4 separate regions of the Homo sapiens genome follow, and regions 1, 3 and 4 are each linked to region 2. Evidence: promoter capture Hi-C in 16 types of primary human blood cells and fetal thymus (Javierre and others, 2016). All regions are on one chromosome and are shown on one strand. Each heading gives the region's core, a stretch centred on a gene start or on the middle of the fragment in contact. The rest is flanking DNA. Distances are from core to core; before and after follow the strand shown. Region 1 overlaps CYP3A43 (cytochrome P450 family 3 subfamily A member 43). Region 2 holds the start of ZSCAN25 (zinc finger and SCAN domain containing 25). Region 3 has its middle 9.9 kb from the start of CYP3A43. Region 4 overlaps CYP3A4 (cytochrome P450 family 3 subfamily A member 4).

Region 1 (4,928 bases), core at 2,086-4,585, 240 kb before region 2:
ACGTGGCTAGCATTTGGTGTTATATTTGGAAGGTAATATTGTAGAGGTTAAATGTTTGGCCCAGGCGTCAGGCACCCTGGGTCCTAGCTTGGCTTCTTCACCACTAGCTACTTGACTGGAGCAGAGAGAGGTGTGAGGCAGAGCTGAGTCAGCCTGCCCAGCGCACCCAGGGCCAGGTTCCATCAGACCACTGCCAGACCACAGCGAGTCCAGCCAATATCAGCAGAGCTCACTATCCAGACTTGTGAGCAATAAATGATTGTTTTTAGTTGTCATTGAGATTTCTGGATATTTTTTACTTGGTGTTATGTTGCTAACAGACAACGGATGCAGCAGGACCAGCACTGTTTCACAAAGATCTTACACTTACGCAAGAAGCATCCACTACCTACGATTCTCCCTTTGTTTTTACTCTTTACAGCCTTTCTGCATAGTGTAAATGAAAGAACTGATGCTTACGCTTTTTGCAAAAATTGTCCTGGCAAGTGGTGAGGAGGCATTCTTGCTGAGGCTTCACCTTCTCCCTCCTTCTCCAGGGGATCATCCCCTTACCTTATTGGGTAAAACTGCGTCAATCTCCTCCTGCAGTTTCTGCTGGACATCAGGGTGAGTGGCCAGTTCATACATAATGAAGGGGAGAGTGGTGCTAGTTGTGTCATAGGCAGCAAAAATGATGATAATTGACTGGGCCACAAGCTCCAGATCAGACAGAGCTGAAAGGAGAGGAAATATATTTTAGGAAAAGTGGTTAGTGTAGAGCATCACAGTTTAGATGAAGCAAAATTCCAGTGAAGCTCCCAAATCCCTAAGAGCAAAAATAGAAAAGCAATTCAGAGTCACACTGCGGGTGGCTTCACTCTGATGTGTATCCTACAGAGCCAGAATAAGGCAAAGTCACTTTAATCCAGTTTTTTTTCCAGGGTCTACACGATTGTGGGCCATTCACTCCTCATCATACCATCCCCACCAGCTGCACAGCTGGGTAACTTTCAAAGAGAGCATTTCTGTCTAACATACTCAGTGTTATAGGGATGTCCCTTGGATAATCATAGAAGTTCTTTATCTATAAGTAAACGTGGAGTAACATTCTCCCCAGGGAAGATTTAAATTACTCTAGCTACAATATAGCTTGACAAACAATGAGACAGTTTGCAATACTAAGGCTTGATTTTAGGGAAATATAAAGGAACTTTTCTCTAAGCATGTTTGCGGGAACCCAAGGGAAGAATATTGGGCTCTTGCCACTCAAAATGTGGTCCATGGACCAGCAGCACCAGCAGCATCTGGGAGCTTATCAGAAATGCAGAATCTCAAACCCTACCCTCAAACTGCAGAATCAAAATCTGAACTTTCATGAGATGTGGTAATTTGTGAGCCCAGCATGGCTTGAGAAGCATGGATTACATCTTTGAGTGACATCAAGTAATAGAGTTCCTAGGGCACTAGTCTTCAAAATGGATGACCTCTGGATATACGAAAGCTACAGAGACAAAAATCTAGAAGTGAGGTGATTGACTGTAGTCCAATGAGTGGTTTTAATAAAACAGGCTGGGCACAGTGGTGCAAGCGTGTAATCCCAGCACTTTGGGAGGCTGACACAGGAGGATCATTGAGGTCAGGATTTTGAGACCAGCCTGGCCAACATGGTGAAACCCCATCTCTACTAAAATTACAAAAAAACCCACAACTGGGTGTGGTGGTGGGCACCTGTAGTCCCAGCTACTCGGGAGGCTGAGGCAGGAGAATTGCTTGAACCTGGGAGGCAGAGGTTGCAGTGAGCCAAGATCAGACCACTTCACTCCAGCCTGGGTGACAGAGTGAGACTCCATCTCAAATAATAATAATAATAATAATAATAATAATAATAATAATAATAATAATACAGCAGGAAGAATGCATGTATAGATGGGCATTGGCCAACATGAAATATAAAAACAATAGGGTCTAGTGAGTGGAATTCATAGTGCCTATTCCATCCTGGCCCGAATAGCATCTTCCTTAGTACATGCCCATTCTCTCTGCTCCACTTCATGCTCACCGAACAGCATTTATGACTACAGGTTTGCCTCCCTCTTGATATTTCTCCCAAGAAAAGCTTAGCACAGTCAGCCATTGGTCTGTTTGATCAGGACTGGATTAAGAACTTTAGAGACCTAGGGTACTAAAATAAATATGGTGCCCACTCCAACCATGTATTTCATAACTGAAAACAATACAAGATGAGTGTGAGAAAGGTCTACAGAGTTGTGATTTACTGGTGATAATTTTCATGATGATGTTGTGGGTAAATTCAACTTTCCAATTATTTTATTCAGTTGGCATGAACCCCAGGACATGGAATTGAAATGAAATCATAATCTCAAAGTGTAGATCTGCTACCCAGTAGGGTAGGCACTAGCCACAGGTGGCTACTTAAATTTAATTAATTAAAATTAGATATACTTAAAAATTATTCTTCATTGGCAGCAGCTACATGTTCAGTACTCAATAGCCATGTATCTAGTGATGTCTGTATTGAGCAACAAAACGATAGACTGTTTCCCTTTTCACAAAAAGTTGCACTGGGACAGATGGACAGATGATAGATGACACATAGATAGACAAGTAGATGAAGACATAGATATATTTACAATGGTGTGTTTGAGTTAAACATTTCCTGCTCTTTATTTTTACTTATTTTATTTATTTAGTATTATTTTTGAGATGGAGTCTCACTCTGTTGCCCAGGCTGGAGTGCAGTAGTGTGATCTTGGCTCACTGCAACCTCCGCCTCCCTGGTTCAAGTGATTCTCCCACCTCAGCCTCCCAAATAGCTGGGATTACAGGTGTGCGCCACCACACCCGGCTAGTTTTTGTATTTTTAGTAGAGACAGGGTTTCGCCATGTTGGCCAGGCTGGTCTCGAACTCCTGACCCTAGGTGATCCACCTGCCTCGGCCTCCCAAAGTGCTGAGATTACAGACGTGAGCCACCATGCCCAGCCTCCACTTCCTGCTCTTTAGAATTAATTGTTAATATTCACAATTATGTCATATGGTTGTCAAACTTTGATGGCTTGAAATCGATCATGGTCATTATTTTGCGACCATCATAGTAATGATGGTTTCAGTCAAAACCATCCATGGGTGGTAAAACTAGTAGGTGAAAAATTGAAGAGGAAAAGGACATTACACAGTCTTAAAGGTTTTCTCACAGTTACTTTTCCATTATATAGGGAAAAATAAAACCCGTCAGTAGATTAACCTTGTGAACACACTTTCACCAAGTGTTTCCAGTTAAAATCACCCTTATTTGGACAGTGTGTCTCCTGATTGGATGTTAGATGTACGTTTCCAAGTTCTGAGTAAGTGGATCTGGAGGAGGCTGAGAACTGGCATTTTATCTGATGTGGGTGATCCACAGATCACTGACCGACCTCCGGGAGTGCCACACTTGTTCAGGGTTGCCCTTCAAGCCTGGAATGTGGCTATGCCTGTGTGCTTCTAGAAAGTGCCTCCAGCTATCATTTATAACATCCAAATGTGTGCCTTTCTGCAATGTGGAAGAAATTCTCATTTTCCTGGAAAACTTTCTGCACATTTTCAGAACAGGGCCTTCTCTCTGAGTGTCCCCATCAGTAGCCCCCAGATGCAGTTCTTGGTTACCTTTATGGGACTTTGTTTCTTTGGAATTCTGGGAGTCGATCATCTGTTGAAAGAAATCTACTCGATGCTGGAAGCAAAAAGAGAAATTTTAATGACAGAAAGTCACTTGTGAAGTCAGAAGTGAATCAGGAGTCCAGTCCTAAGCACCCCTCCTGAGAATATGCTCTCTTTAAGTTCAGAAGTGTAATGGGTGTTGCCTGAGTCACCAATGTTTAGAATAAAATCATGCATCTAAAACCTTGGAGAGCAGGATGTTTCCTTGAGAGAAATCCTTTTGTCATGTCTATCTGCTTTTTAGTCTTTGCTCTCCCTGATCCTCAGCTTCTCTGGCCTTTGGACACAACTTCCTGGCCAAAGAGTTGTCAGCTCATTCTCTAGTCATAATTTCTTGAACAGGAAGAAGTCCTGAATTTCAATCCTATTTGTTCTGCTGCTTTTATTCTTAACCAATGGACAAATAGATTAATCTCTGGATAATCCCAGGGGAGCTGATTTGAATGCATCTTCAAATACTCCCCACTCCTAGAACTCTATACAACGTTCAGTGTCACCTAGGGGACCCAGTCCTGCATTCCTGACTTTGAGGCATCATCATCGGGCTGGTCTCCAGGGCTCATAAAGGCAAAGTTGGATCAGTCAGCTTGCACCCACAATGCCCAGAGAAGACCCCTGCCCAGTCCAGGCTATGACAGGACTGAAATTTAACATACACTTACTTCTGCAGGTAGCCTGGTAGGGACTCCTGCTGAAGAAGGTGTAAAAATAACAGGCTTGGACTTGAAATGATTCCTTACTAATATAAGAACTAGGGAAATTGTAATACCCATAAAATAATTTTATCAGTCATTTTTATCCAGTCAGATTTATTGGCAACTTTATACAGTCAAATTTATTGACAATTTACTGAAAGGAAGAGAAGCGGTAAAGCTTCTATCTCTACATTATTTATGCCATAATATACTAAAGTCATGCCTATTATTAAATTCCAAATGCTGTTTCACTCATTCTCTTTCTTCCCCAAGCTTCACCTTCTTTATTCCCAGCAAAATGTAAAAACCCTCTTGGTCTAAAGTTCTCTAGCTGCCTTTAAAAAACACAGATAAGTGCACAAATCGTATGTAAACAGCCCAAAAATATAATAAAAAAGTGAACATTCTCATGTCACCACCACCAGATTTTACCTTTTGTTTATCTTTGAGGCGACTTTCTTTCATCCTTTCAATGGAATTTTTTAAAAAATGGGTAACATCTTTTGGAAACAAACCGATATTTAGGGCTTCAAAAA
Region 2 (4,992 bases), core at 851-3,350:
AGAAAGAAAATAAGTAGGGTGCTCTGTTAACAGGGGGCAACTGACTTGAAGAAGGCTTTTCTAAAGACATGATACCAGGCTGACTCAAGGATGAGAATGAGTCAGTCATTCTAAGAGCATTCCAGGCAAAAGCCCTGAGGCTAAGAAATTACTCTGGGTGTCCAAGAACAAGCCATATCCCAGTGTGGCTTCAGCAGTGACGAGCAGAGCTGCACCAGAAGAGGTGGCAGAGGCAGACAGAAACCAGATCACCCAGAGCCTGCGCCACAGAAAGAATTATGAACTTTATTCTTATTTCTTACTTTAGCGAGGAACTACATGTTTTATAAAAGTCATTCTGCCTGTGTGTTGACAGGGAATAGGCTAGAGGTGGCAAGAGGGAAATGGCACTTACAGTGATTCAAGCAGATGATAAGGGCTTAGATCAGGGTGGTGGCAAAGAGTCAGACAAAATCAAGACGTATTTTGGAGATTAAAACCAACAAACTTGCTGATGGCTTAGATGTGATGGTGCGCTCAACCTGAAAAAGACAATGGAGCAACATATATACCATTATGACAAATGACCTAAAGATTTCTAACTTGTACAGGCTTTACTCTTTAGAAAGCATGTGAACACATATTTCATCTAATACTTAAAACACTTCTGTAGGATGAGTGCTACTCCTCCTACTTCTCAGAAGAAAAAAAAGAGACTAGATGATAACTGCCTCCCAAAATACATGGTACAGATTGAAAAAAAAATGTGAAGTCAAAAAGAGAGAAAACTAATCTAAGTCCAAGTACTCAAGGAAAAGAAGAGGCTTGAAGTAGACTGGAGAATGAGTCCTATTTACCTCCAAGTGGATTATGCGGAAGACCTAGACTGGGAAGACAGACTTGGAAGTCCAAAGCACCAGGGGAAGGAGATCCTGCTTGTCAGAAAACGGAAAGATCACCTGACTGGAGCAGAGAATGGGCAGCTGGCAGGAGGCACACCCCAAAGCTTCTGCTAAATATTCTATTGTGAGTTTGTGTATTTATCTACCCCCACTTAAACCAAGTTTATATTTTCAGTCTATTCATTGACTCTGCAACATTGAGATTTCTCTTTCATTCCTTTCTAGCTATTGCATTGGTTCACTCCACTAGTGCATTTAATGCACTACAGTGCAAATGTTTACCCATGTGTCTCCCTCTAACAGATTCCCTGGAGGCAAGAAAGATCCTCATTCATCTTTTATCTCTGCCATTTGACAAATAGAAATTGCCCCATTGCTATTCTTTATCTCCCCCCACCCATTGTGACTCTTTTGTTTTGTTTCTGAGACAGGATCTCAGGGTTTTATCACCCCAGCTGGAGACCAGTGGTGCGATCACTGCAGCCTTTGCCTCCTAGGATCAAGCGATCCTCCCACCTCAGCCTCCCGAGTAGCTGGGACTACTGGCGAGTGCCACCATGACCAGCTAATTATTTATTTTTGTAGAGACAGGGTCTCCCCATGTTGCCCAGGCTGGAGTGCAGCGGCATGAATGTAAGTCAGTGCAACCTTGAACTCCTGGGCTCAGGCGATCCTCCTGCCTCAGCCTCCCGAGTAGCTGGGACCTCAGGCGCGTGCCACCACGCCCGGCTACTTTTCAATTTTTGTAGAGACAGGGTCTCGCTATGTTGACCAGGCTGGCTCATCACTATTCTTTAAATAAGTGTCCTATGTGATTACTTTCACTTTGCACAGAGTTCTGCTTTGGTTCAAGATCTCTTCGGGTTCGTGGCCAGCCCTGCACTAAGCCAAGCCTGGCAGAGCGGGATCAGCCTCGCTCCTACCTGAGCCTACAGCGCGGCGGCCCCTCAGCGTCCAGACCCGCAGGGCCTCGGGGCCGCTGAAGGCAGCTCCTGAGAGACTTGCCGCCCTCAGCCGGGGCTGAGCGGAGGGAGACGGGCTCTACTGCAACCCCGCTGCCGCCGAGCCCCGTAGCGGCACCAAAACCCGTCCCCGCGCCCGTTTACCACTTCGCCCGCCACCCGCTGCGGCCCTGAAGAGGCTCTCACCCGCCGCGGCCCTGAAGGGCCTCTCACCCGCTAGGGTCGCCAGTGCTATCCGCGGTCCGGAAGTGAGCTGCGGACGCTGTTAGACAGGTGCGTAAGGAAAGACTCGCTTCCGTGTCCTCTCTAGGATGCTCGGAGGTCTCGGCGGATGCGTCTCGATGGTTGCTGATCCCAGCCTGCTGTTCCGAACCCGGCGAGGCGAAGACCACCAGGGCTTCCCCAGGATTGACTGCCCAGCTCGAGGCGCTCTGTGGCTAGGCCCCTTCCACTTCCGTGCCATTTCACCTGCTTGCCCTCCGTGGAAAGGACTCGGTGCATCGCCAGATACACTACTGGACACAGCACCTGCCCCAAGGGGCTTTAGAGTCCAGTCGGTCAATGCGCGACTATTCCGGCTGCGAGGGCCTTGCGCGAGGCGTAGGGGCAGAGGAGATAGGGGGCGCACTGGATCTAACCGGCTCACTTAAGAGGCTCCTGACCCCGGGTAGTGTGCGTGCGTGTGTGTATGTGTAGTCAGGGAAGGCTTCCTGGAGGAGCCAGCATCGGAGCTGTTTTTTGTGGGGGGTTTTTGTTTGTTTGTTTGTTTGTGTTTTTTGAGAAAGAGAGAGAGAAGTCTTGTTCTGTCTCCCAGGATGGAGTGCAGTGGTGAGATCATAGCTCACTGCAACCTCGAAGCCCTGAGTTCAAGCAATCCTCCCACCTCAGTCTCCTGGGTAGCTGGGACTTTTTTTCAATTTTTTGCAGAGAGGGGGATCTCTCTATGTTGCCCAATCTGGTCTCCAACTTCTGGACTCAAGCGATCTTCCCCCCTTGGCCTCCCAAAGTGCTAGGACTGCAGGCGCAAGCCACCGCGTCCAGCCTGAAGGCAGTCTGTCTCAACTGGGTGGCCCAGTGTTACTCCAGAATCCACTCAGGAAACAGGAAACCCTCTTGTCTTACTCTTCTCCAGCACTTTGCAAAGTGTCTGGTACAATATTTGCTAAAAATATACACTTATAGAGTAAATGAACTCCTAGAATATAACATAGGTGTTAGACCATCTCACTTTATCCTCCATGTCTCTGTCCCACTTTCATATTTTTCTTGTCTGCCCATATTTGACTTGGGTTTATGTCTTCACCTTTTTATTAATAATCCACTTTTCAGCTGTTTCTAATGTGCTACAAAATCCACAGTTGTTGTTTTTTTGTTTTGTTTTGTTTTGTTTTTTAAGAGACGAGGTCTTGCTGTGTCACCTAGGCTGGAGTACAGCGGTGCTATCATAGCTCACTACAGCTTCCAACTCCTGGGTTCAAGCAATCCACCTCAGCTTCCCAAATAGCTGGGACTACAGGCATGAGCCACCACACCCAGCTAATCTTTAAAAAATGTTTTGTAAGGACAGGGTCTCACTATGTTGCCCAGGCTAGTCTTAAACTCCTGGGCTCGAGCAATCCTCCCCACTTGGCCACCCATATTTTTGTTTTAATTAATATATTTTTTCCATTTCTAGAATTTCTATTTGATTTTTTCCAAATATTCTAGATCGATCTTTTAAAAGAATTTACCGATATGTTTAAGCTTTTCTTTGTACATAGTAAATATAGTTGAGCCTGATAATTCTGAGATCTGAAGTCCCCTCAGATATCTTTCTGTGATCTGCTATTTCCACTGTTTTTGATGGTGCCACTTCCACCAGCAGTACCTAACAGCATCCATTTCCCATATCTCATCATCTCTGCCATTATCCAGCTTTAATTTTTGCCAATTGACAGGTGAAGTAAATGTTACCTCATTTTTTAATTTGCATGTTCTTCATTATAAGTGAGGTCAGTCATTATTCCTACTTTCATTAACTTCTTGCCTTCCCTTTTCTGTGAACGGACTTTTCTTTGTGTTTCTATTAAGCTGTTTATCTCTTTCTTATTGATTTATGAGTTCTGGGGACATTATATAATGTCCCTAGAGCATTAAATAATGTCCCCAGGACATTAATTGGGGGCATTCCTCAAACATACCTTCCTCGAACATACCACAGTACCTTGTTTCCTTGTGTGACAGGCTGCTCATTTTCCTTGGAAACATTTTTGTGAAATTTCTTTGAGTTCCAGGATAAAGTGAATTTATCTAGAGAGGGTTGATATTGTTTTTCTTCCATGTAAATTTTTTTCTTGTCAGCATCACCAGTCCAAGGTCATTGTAAACCAAATTTATAATTTGAGGATTTTTGAACCATGCTATAATAGTAATATGAATTTGGGCTGCAAATATTGAGGGGTGATTTGTGGTTGCAACTTCTCAACCACAAATCTTTGTGGTTTTGTGGTTGTCCAGCGTGGCACTAAGACAAATTGCCTTGCTGGCTCCTGGTGGTAGGGGTACGGGAGAGGAGACTTATCTCTCACCCTTACATTGATAACCCAGCCCTTGTCTATGGCCATACCACCCTGAATGTACCGGATCTCTTCTGATAATCCACACTTTTGCAGTCCTTGGTTTATGGGGGGAAAGCTCTCTTATCAGATGCTCTTCCTTGAGTAAACTTTAGGCATAGTTTTAAAAAATCAAATCTCTGCAAGATGATTTCTCTAGGTATTATTCTTTACTTTGATGTTATCTTATAATTCATTACTATTTTGTTACCTGATATCTTTAGATTTTATTATTTATTTTATCATTTCTGTTGTTTTTGGCAGACGAATCAGCCCAACTATTTAGTCTGCCATGTTATCAGATGTAGGATGTCTCCAGGCTTCTTTATTTATATGTTTTTATTTCTTCCAAATAGGACACTTAAAATTACATTTTTACTGCCTGTATAATATTCTGTCCTCTGAATACACTATACTTTTAAAAATTATTTCAACATGGGGGAAATAATCTAGAATATACTCTTTTATTTTTGCTATTATAAATAACCTGGAACAAGCATTCCTTTGTATAAATACTTAACCTCACCCCTGGTTATTTCCTTAGAATAAATTCCT
Region 3 (4,401 bases), core at 564-3,063, 200 kb before region 2:
CCTCCAGTCCCCTTTAGTTCAAAGTACTCAGCTTGCCACAGTGTCCTATTTTCAAGTGTTTTCTTCTGAGCCCCAACAGATCAGTAATGATAATTTATGTTTGTAGCATTCAATGCTTAAGCAACTTCCCCTCCATTATGTCTTTCATCTTCAAAACAAATAAGAAAAATAGGCCTGATTAGCACTAAAAGTCTAAAGTTACAGAGCAGATGGCCTGGACAGTTATTCACAGGTAGAGGAGCACCAGGCTGGTAGCCAGGAGAACACACATTTCCATGGCAAAGTTTGGAATGAGATCCATCGCATTTTCTTTTTCAAATCTATCTTCTGAGTTTTTCTTTCAGCTGTGTGCCGCTTTTGGCTGGGCTGTGCATGTAGAGCTTTCTTTCTCTGCCCAGAGGTGATTTAGTTAAGGTTAACAGGAATATTTATGTGCTGGGGAATGAGTTGGGTCCATAGCTGCAGCCAGTAGAAAAGCTACCTATGCTGCTCCTCATGTGGAGGGATTGGGGTGCTCTTCTCACATTCACAGTTGGTGAAGAATTATGGCCACCCTTATTTTGACCTCCTTTGACTTTATATTGTGTGATATCAGTAAACTAATCAGTGTTTGATAAGCCCCAAGAGTTATAGATTCTTATCAGAAACTCTTGTGAAGTCATTGGCATTCAATCTCTAACCAGCCCTTATCTTCATGGCTGCCTTCAATCCAAAATACTTCAAATCCATCAAAATAATGCACACATACACATCTTTATCCAGGAAGTTTCCACTGCCTAGAATTTCTCTATACTCCCTAGAAGACTACTATTCATCCTTTCAAACCCAGATCAGATAGACTTCTTTTTAAGTTTTTATTCATTTATGTTTCTTTTTTTCCCACGCAATATACCTATGTTAGCCTGTACATGCATTGCTATAAAGAAGTACCTGAGTCTGGGTAGTTTATAAAGAAAACAGGTTTAATTGGTTCACGATTCTGCAGGCTATACAGGAAGCATGACTGGGGAGGTCTCAGGAAACTTACAATCATGGTGCGAAGGCACATCTTATATTGACCAGAGAAGGAGGAGGGAGAGAGAGAAGAGGGAGCTGCTACACACTTTTAAACAACCAGATCTCATGAGAATTCACTCACTATCATGAGAACAGCAAGGGATAAGTCTGACCCCATGACACCCAATCACCTCCCACCAGACCCCTCCTCCAACATTGAGGATTACAATTTGACATGAGATTTGGGTGGGGTCACAAATCCAAACCACATCAATACCCATATAATAATTTGTTTTATTTATTTTTTTGAGACACACTCTCACTCTGTTGCCTAGGCTAGAGTGCAGTGGCACAATCATAGCTCACTGTAACCTCAAACTCCCAGGCTCAAGCGATCCTCCTGCCTTAGTCTCTGGAGTAGCTGAGGATACAGGTATGCATCAGCACACCTAGCTAATTTTATTTTTTTATTTTTATTTTTGTAGAGACTGTGTGTCTATGTTTCCGAGGCTGGTCTCGAATTCCTGGCTTGAAGTGATCCTCTGGCATTGGACTCTCAAAGTGCTGGGATTATAGGGGTGAGCCACTGCACCAAGCCCAGACCTCTCCTATTAGAGGCTTTCTCTGATTTAGGAATCAGACATGACTGCTTCCTCCTCTGGGCAACTTCTTTCCCCCCTCCCATGGTTCTATTATTGTCTTTCCTCCTCTCCAGCACCGTGTTGGTTTCCACACATGAGCAGTGGTGATCCCTTACCAGAGCATGAGCTTCTTAAGGACAGTCTGAGTATTATTCACCACTATGTCTGCAGGCCCTAGCTGAGTCCTTTACACAGAGTGGGCATCCAGAAAGATTTGTTGAGTTTAGTTGGGTTAGATTGCTGCATATTGCAAAACTTTTCCTGGGACTCTTTCCCTAGGACTCTGGTGACCAAGCCACTTTCCTGCATACAGCAAGAGCTTTTGGCTGGGCCTCAGCTGCCATTCCTGTACATTCAGAATGATCCACCAGGATTCTGTTGTCAAGAGGGCCTGTAATGGAGACACAGGGAAGGAGATGAAGATGACGGCTTCAGTGAGAAGCAGCATACTGTGCTGCTTCCTGTGCACCCCCTCAAATGGTTCTGCAGAAGACGGAAAGCTAGAGATGCTCCTGACCAAAGAATGCCCCTCTCTCTGGAAATAATGCATGTCTGGGAACAATGGGTGTGAAAGGAGAGAAGAGGAGAACAGCTACCTGGATTGCCAGGTGGACTCCAGCCACCTTAGCCACCAGGGATGTGGCTGATGTCACTACAAGCAGCACATACAACATCAAGGACTCCAATAAGATGATTTGAGCTTCTTCTTTGGGGTAGTAGGGGTCAGAACAGACACATCCTGCTTTCTGAAGAGTGAAATATTTACCCCAGGAGCTGGTAAGGATGAGGCCTGCGACAGCAATGCTGTCATCTGAGAGCCCCTCTATGCCTGCTTGCTGGAAGAGATCCCAAAGCTGAGCCTTTGGAAATGGCACTGGCTCATTATCATCACTGACCCACGTTCCATGTCTCCTTGCCCTGAGGAATTATGAATTATGTGACAAGTAAATCCTCGACATTCTTAAAAGTCAGCAGAAATACAGCCCTAAACTCCTGGGCTCAAGTGATCCTCCTGCCCTAGCCTCTCGAGTAGCTGGAACTACAGGCATGCATCAACATGTCCAGACTTTATTTGTTGTTGTAGATATGGGGTCTTGCTATAATGCCTAGGCTGGTCTCAAAGTGCGGGCTCAAGCAATCCTTCTCTCTCAGCCTCCCAAATTACTGGGAATACAGACATCAACCACTGAGCCTGATCTTGATAGAAATTCTTAGTAAAAAGGATGACTTTTAAATATTAAATCTAGATTCTCAAGCAGTATGGTAAACTATTTTTGAAAAGCCATATACAATTAAATTTGTATATGTTAAAACTTGCAAAATAATCTTGAGTAGGCTGGACGTGGTTGCTTATGCCTGTAATGCCAGCACTTTGGGAGGCCAAGACCAGCGGATCACAAGGTCAGGAGATCGAGACCATCCTGGCTAACACAGTGAAACCCCGTCTCTACTAAAAATACAAAAAATTAGCCGGGCATGGCGGCGTGTGCCTGTAGTCCCAGCTACTTGGGAGGCTGAGGCAGGAGGATGGCGTGAACCTGGGAGGCGGAGCTTGCAGTGAGCCGAGATCTTGCCACTGCACTCCAGCCTGGGCGACAGAGCAAGACTCTGTCTAAAAAAAAAAAAAAATCTTGAGTAGATATTATACATTTTAATTATACAAGCAGCCATTGACTTCTGAAAAGTCCAGTAACCCCTCCTAATTAAACCCATCCTATGAAATGATGGGAAGAGGGCTTCAGGAGACTTTATTTATTTATTTATTTATTGAAACAGAGTCTTGCTCTGTGGGCCCTGAGCTGGAGTGCAGTGAAGTGATCTCGGCTCATCGCAACCTCCGCCTCCTGAGTTGAAGCACTTCTCCTGCCTCAGCCTCCCCCGTAGCTGGGATTACAGGTGGGCACTACTGAGCCCAGCTAATTTTTGTATTTTTAGTAGAGACGGAGTTTCACCATGTTGGCCAGGCTGGTCTTGAACTCCTGGCCTCAGTGATCAGCCTGCCTCGGCCTCCCAAAGTGCTGGGATTACAGGCATGAGCCACCGCGCCTGGCCTGTGCTTTTGCTTTTAACATCTCATCTTGGCTACAAAGAGCAGTGCAAATGGGGAACTTCTCAAGTCCTACAGCATTTTGACCATAGTTTTAGCCTCACTCTTATCAAGTCAGCAACACTGTAACTTCCAATCTCAGTTGAGTGGAGGGCAAGCAAATTGCTATAGAGACTGAGAAACATCAGCCTGTAGATGCCTGGGAGCTGGGCTAGGGACTATCTTCCCCTTCCCAAATGTGCCACAAGCCTGCTTTCTCCCGCACTGAGCCCCCTATTTGTACAGATGCACAGATTGGCTACAAAGCTTCCATTAAGCCACAAATAGGATGAAAACCATCTCTACCCTCCTCCATTCCCATGCAGAAATCCTGCTTCAGAGAAGGAGTTGCATATTGAATGCATGAATCCTAGAAATAAGACTTAGAAGGTCTTGTTTGACATCAATCAATGACAACTGTCTTTAAGTTCATCAGGGAAAAGATCCCAACTTTTCTATAAAGGTAACACCATGTTATTTTTAATTTTAAAGTGACATGAATGTATTTTTCTAAGAGACAGACAAACACACCCACAAACACCCACACATACATAAATGTCAGATTAAAATTAAAAATTAAATACCTTAAAATTTGTGGCCAGGAACCCCAATTCAACTGCAAATCACTCCTTGAACATTTACTGAATGCTTGCCATGGAAATGTCCCCTGCAAAGTGC
Region 4 (4,956 bases), core at 2,330-4,829, 160 kb before region 2:
TCAAAATGGAGTAAGAAAATATTCCTCATCCCTCAGGGTAGAACTCCAAAGAGATATTCATGGGTCCTGGCCCCGTAGTGGAGGTCACTCAAAGGACAAACATGTTTGCATCTCATCTGCTTGAAGCCTGGACACAGAGGCACCATCTGTGTCACTCTGTGTGTGGTCTGCCATGTTGTGGGGTGGTCACTACAGACTCAGGCAGCTGGGCAGACAATACCTTAGCCTTAGATGATGCTGATGCAGCCCAGGAGTCAGAAACTGTAGTGCAGACAATGCCCTCCTTAGGCCAACACAATTAAGTGCAATAGATGACTGGCTTTTCTGTTAGCCTCTTCATTGGAACCAAAAGCAGCATTACTCTACCAAACAGAGGGGAGCTGGAAAGAAACTACACAGTTTGCCCAGCCTAGCCTCTGCCTTGACACGGAACCATGTGAGTCTAGACATTCACCTAGATCATTCCTTGGGGACCAATGCTGCTGACACATTAACTCAATAGTTTGTCCTGGCCTGAGAGGTCATGTAACTTGTAGAAAGTTTAGAAGCAGAGATTAGTGTCATTTATTTGCCATGGCTGTGACAACAAAGGAAGGAACAGGAGTGGGAAAACCCAAGGCCACCCTGGTTTTGGTAGATGGTGCACACGCTTCCACTAACTGTTCTGGGGCAAAGATCCAAATGCACTATTGGGCCTGGCTATGCTGCTTCTGCTGGGTCCCCCAAACATGAGCCTCCACGCCATTTCTCAGTTGTATTTTACCACATATTATCACAGTCACCGGATTTGTACAGAATATTTGGAACCTATACTGTCTTAAGGGCTACCCTTTAAAGAAGAGAAAACAAGGTTTTAATTCAACTGTCTGGAACATTTTATGTTTACTTATGTGGAATACTACATCTTTTGTTATAAACAGGAGGGAATGTGGACATTCGAAGGCCCCTACCTTTTAGCTAAAAGCCCATATGAAGCATATGGATCCATTTATACACACCATGCTTTTCAGCTACATTTTCCTAATTTGCCTCTCTGGGGCCAACCTTGTGGGACTAGCAGATTCATGGTTGAGTTGAAGGATGGTGACCTCTTCCATCAGCTTTTCTTCTTCCTCCAGTCTTCCAACCCTCAGTAACATCAGACTGGGAAGGTCTTCAGACATCCAGAAACCCCAGTTCGGGGAGTTCATACATGACCCATCAAAGATGAGTTGCAAGCAGGCCTGCCTTAGGGAGCACCAGCCTTAATGGGTTTTCCTACAGAGATAGTTGATGGGCAGATGCAATAAACTGACTGCTTTGTGATTGACCACCTTGAGAAAAATTAGCATGTCTGGCTATGTTAGTCTTTTCTTGCATTGTTATAAAGAAATACCAGAGTCTGGGTATTTATAAAGAAAAGGGATTTAATTGTCTCATGGTTCTGCAGGCTGTACAGAAAGCATAGTGACTTCTTCCTCTAGGGAGGTCTCAGGAAATTTACAATCATGGCAGAAGGTGAAGGAGAAGCAGACAGATCTTACATGGCTGGAGCAGAAGCAAGAGAGGCTGGGGAGAAGGTGCCACACATTCAAACCACCAGATCTCATAAAAACTCATTGTCACGAGGACAACACCTAAGGCGGGATGGTGTGAAACGATGAGAAACTGCCCCTAGGATCCAATCATCTCCTACCAGGCCCCACCTCCAGTATTGGGGATTGCATTTCAACATGAGATTTTGGTAGGGGCACAGATTCAGACCATATCACTGGCACTGTGCTAATCAGATGAATATCACCAGTTGGAAGGCTAGATTCCACAAGAGGAGGAATGACCTGGAAATTGGTTCTTTAGTTGTGATTCTTCTGCACACTGTCATTCAGGGAAATATGAGTCAATCATCCTTCCCAATAGGTCAAATCAACCAGATCATCTGATCACAGAGACTGAGGTGTAGCTGAAAGCTGCTCACATTTCTATGAGGTCAATGGAAGCCTTGAGCACAGTTGTCAATCTGTAGAAATAAGGACTCTGTGACTCCTCCAAGACCTCTCTGTGAATGACGGTTTAAGAAGAACCAGATCCTAAAACAGGGTCAGAGCTTAGAGGGAAGGGAAAGCATAAAAGCCTCTGAGCAAATTCTAAAGACAGGGTCACCATAGGCTCTCAGTGACCCTCTGTGACTGAGTGGCTGCAGTGATGCAAAATCTCATCATCACTGCGGAAGACAAAAAAATGTCACCCTTTCTACCTAGGATGAGAATCCCCAAATTTGGGGAGAGGCCACTTACTAAATAGACGTAAAGGAACAAAGTGACCTGGAAGAATTCCTGCCTGAACCTCTCAGGATCATTCACATTTGAGAACATTTATCAAATATTCATTCCAGGACTGGGACCATGAAGACTTCAGCTGCTTTGAGCTAATCATTGTAACTTTTTGGTGTCTCATGGTGGAGGCAGGAAAGGACCTGATGAACAAATATAATCATTGCCGTCAGAGTTACTGTTATTATTTCTTGCCTTAATGTTACCTCGTTCTCTTGAGCATTCCAGTTCCTCAGTCAATGACTCATCAACCCCTATATCTATAAAGTCACAATCGCTGTGACTTGATTTCTGTTTCACTTTGTAGATATGGAACCCATTCACATGGACTTTTTAAGAAGCTTGGAATTCCAGGGCCCACACCTCTGCCTTTTTTGGGAAATATTTTGTCCTACCATAAGGTGAGTGTTTTTGAGCTCACTCTTTTGCTTCTTATGATTGCCAAGAGCAGCTTAGTTCCATCAGTAAAAATGCTTCTCCTCAGGGGGAAGGTCTGAAGTTTTACACTTTCAGAAACAGTGTGTAGGCATCACCCAGAACATGGCAATGTTTACCCAAGGGCTCTCTTGCTAACTCTCAGGAACCTCAGGTTTGCCTCAGTTGAACAGCCCAAATCTCAGGTAGATCAGCAACCTGATGCTCAGAACTTGATGTGCAAACTTTGTGAGCGCCATAAAGAAGGTTTTCTTTTTGCTCTATGCAGGTTCCCAGGAAGGTACAGTCATACTTAGTTAGTATTAAAAGTAGGAAAAGGACCCCCTGATTGTGACTTGTTATCTGTGTACATGAGAGTCAAACTTTCCTCTCTGTAGCAAGAGCTCTTGAGTAGCCTTTTTTCCCTTCCTTCTGGACAGCTTTGAAACTCAATTTATTAGGGAGCCCAGGTATTTACCTTTGGGTCATTTGCACCTGCTTCAATCCTCTCCGAAAAATGCTAAATTCCCTGAGGGTATCTCCATGGCTCTACCCCAGCTCTTACTCCCCATGACATCTTTTGCAGCTTTGAGAGACAGAACAAAGGGGTTCTGCTTTATTTCTTTTCCTTCAAAGGCTGCACCTTATGGGTGAGTCTGATCACAGACTGGATATAACTGAGATGAGACAGTGGTGGTCAATCAAACTCAGATATTTAAGCACAAAATGAGTTTGTGGGGTTTTTTTTTTACACAAAGGCGGAATCACATGCAAAATCACTAGAAAGGGGATGATTTGATGAAATTATTAAATATTTAATTTTGCTGAATAGAATATAATATGTGCCACGTGGACCGTGAACTTTGGCCGAGCCTTTGTGCCTAACCTAGTCTGATGCTCTGCCCAGGGTCTGGGCCCTGGATGGAAAATTAGGAGCCCATGTCCACATGGCCAGCCGCAGCAGTCAGCTCTTTGGCTTACATCATCTTTCCCACATACCTGAGGCTTGTTTCTCAGATTCTAATTCTCTCAGGTGAGGGCTTTGTTGTCTAATTACTATCCAGGAATTTCATATTTTTTCCCTGTGCAAAAGCAATAATTTCCCCGCCACCTTTTCCAGGTCAACTCTTTAGTAGATGTACCCCCAAGATGCACATTCCTGGGACCTTTGTTTGCACAGTTAAAATGTCACCCCTGAAATGTCGATACAGGAAGGTTTGTTTTTAAGTTTCAGTGAAAACTCTGAGCAAGTGTTGTAATTTGCTGTGTCCGATGTGTAGAGGGGACATTTTCTCAGAACTTCCATGTTAAGCTGGAAAACTGGAAAGTGAGTTCACTTTGTCATTCTGTCACTCGTTCATTTTCTCACTCAACAACATGCCTCATACTTACCTAAATCTGCTAGACTAAAGGAGTTCCCTGGTGTCTGTAACTTTCCAATTCTGCTAGAACTCTAGAGCGAGCTCATGAAATAAATGAAAAGGATGACAAAGAGATAAAACACTGTGCATTCTCTTCTGATGCTAATTCACTTTCCCTTGGCCTCAGTTTCCCCATGTGCCCCTGGAGGTGATCATTCAGGGATTCATGAGATTTTCAAGACAACACATGAAAAAGCAAAAAGACATCAGAAAGACAAAGAGGTACTTAGTATTTATACACAAGGATAAGTCATTCAGTATCCACAACACTTGGAGAGAATTCAAGAGTGATTTTAAATTTCCCTTTTCAAATACCTCCTCTGTTTTCTCTTATTTCCTTTATGACGTCTCCAAATAAGCTTCCTCTAACTGCCAGCAAGTCTGATTTCATTGGCTTCGACTGTTTTCATCCCAATTAGAGGCAGGGTTAAGTACATTAAAAATAATAATCAAATATTATTTTGTTTCTCCTCCCAGGGCTTTTGTATGTTTGACATGGAATGTCATAAAAAGTATGGAAAAGTGTGGGGGTGAGTATTCTGGAAACTTCCATTGGATAGACTTGTTTCTATGATGAGTTTACCCCACTGCACAGAGGACAGTCTCAGCCCAAAGCCTCTTGGGATGAAGCTCTTGTCAACCTAACTACAAACAGAGAGAAGTTCTCTGAAAGAAGAAGATATTTATTTGGGTGTAGAGTATTGCAATGGGAATCTGCATGCCTTTATAAACTATGTGCAAATTCAGGGAAGTAAAGCAAGACAAAGAGGCTCCAAGGAAAATATGAGGAGGATTTCTTATCAGTTTTGAAA

Evidence for each region. Contacts are between HindIII fragments. The CHiCAGO score rates a contact against its expected background, and 5 or more counts as called.
Region 1: a contact is called between a fragment that was not itself captured here and the fragment with the promoter of ZSCAN25 in region 2, in 2 of 17 cell types (erythroblasts and M1 macrophages). The highest score is 10.5, in erythroblasts.
Region 3: a fragment that was not itself captured here is called in contact with the fragment with the promoter of ZSCAN25 in region 2 in 2 of 17 cell types (erythroblasts and M1 macrophages); the score reaches 6.8 in erythroblasts.
Region 4: a contact is called between a fragment that was not itself captured here and the fragment with the promoter of ZSCAN25 in region 2, in 1 of 17 cell types (erythroblasts). The highest score is 5.6, in erythroblasts.

What each region holds. Positions count from the first base shown.
Region 1 is chr7:99,855,615-99,860,542 of GRCh38, reverse strand. CYP3A43 (cytochrome P450 family 3 subfamily A member 43) reads right to left here. Exons shown (of 13, transcript NM_057095.3): 8 at 4,825-4,928; 9 at 3,644-3,710; 10 at 553-713. Among named protein-coding and RNA genes, the nearest start is that of OR2AE1, 19 kb to the left of the region's middle. RefSeq lists a silencer at 71-271. The HindIII fragment of the contact is 2,475 bases long and covers 2,098-4,572 here.
Region 2 is chr7:99,614,054-99,619,045 of GRCh38, reverse strand. ZSCAN25 (zinc finger and SCAN domain containing 25) reads right to left here and starts at 2,100. Exons shown (of 8, transcript NM_145115.3): 1 at 2,030-2,100; 2 at 395-521. RefSeq lists enhancers at 2,065-2,384, 1,975-2,954. The HindIII fragment of the contact is 2,601 bases long and covers 988-3,588 here.
Region 3 is chr7:99,815,918-99,820,318 of GRCh38, reverse strand. It overlaps the pseudogene CYP3A137P. Among named protein-coding and RNA genes, the nearest start is that of CYP3A43, 9.9 kb to the left of the region's middle. The HindIII fragment of the contact is 4,358 bases long and covers 1-3,992 here.
Region 4 is chr7:99,777,746-99,782,701 of GRCh38, reverse strand. CYP3A4 (cytochrome P450 family 3 subfamily A member 4) reads left to right here. Exons shown (of 13, transcript NM_017460.6): 2 at 2,617-2,710; 3 at 4,622-4,674. Among named protein-coding and RNA genes, the nearest start is that of CYP3A4, 4.0 kb to the left of the region's middle. The HindIII fragment of the contact is 1,853 bases long and covers 2,653-4,505 here.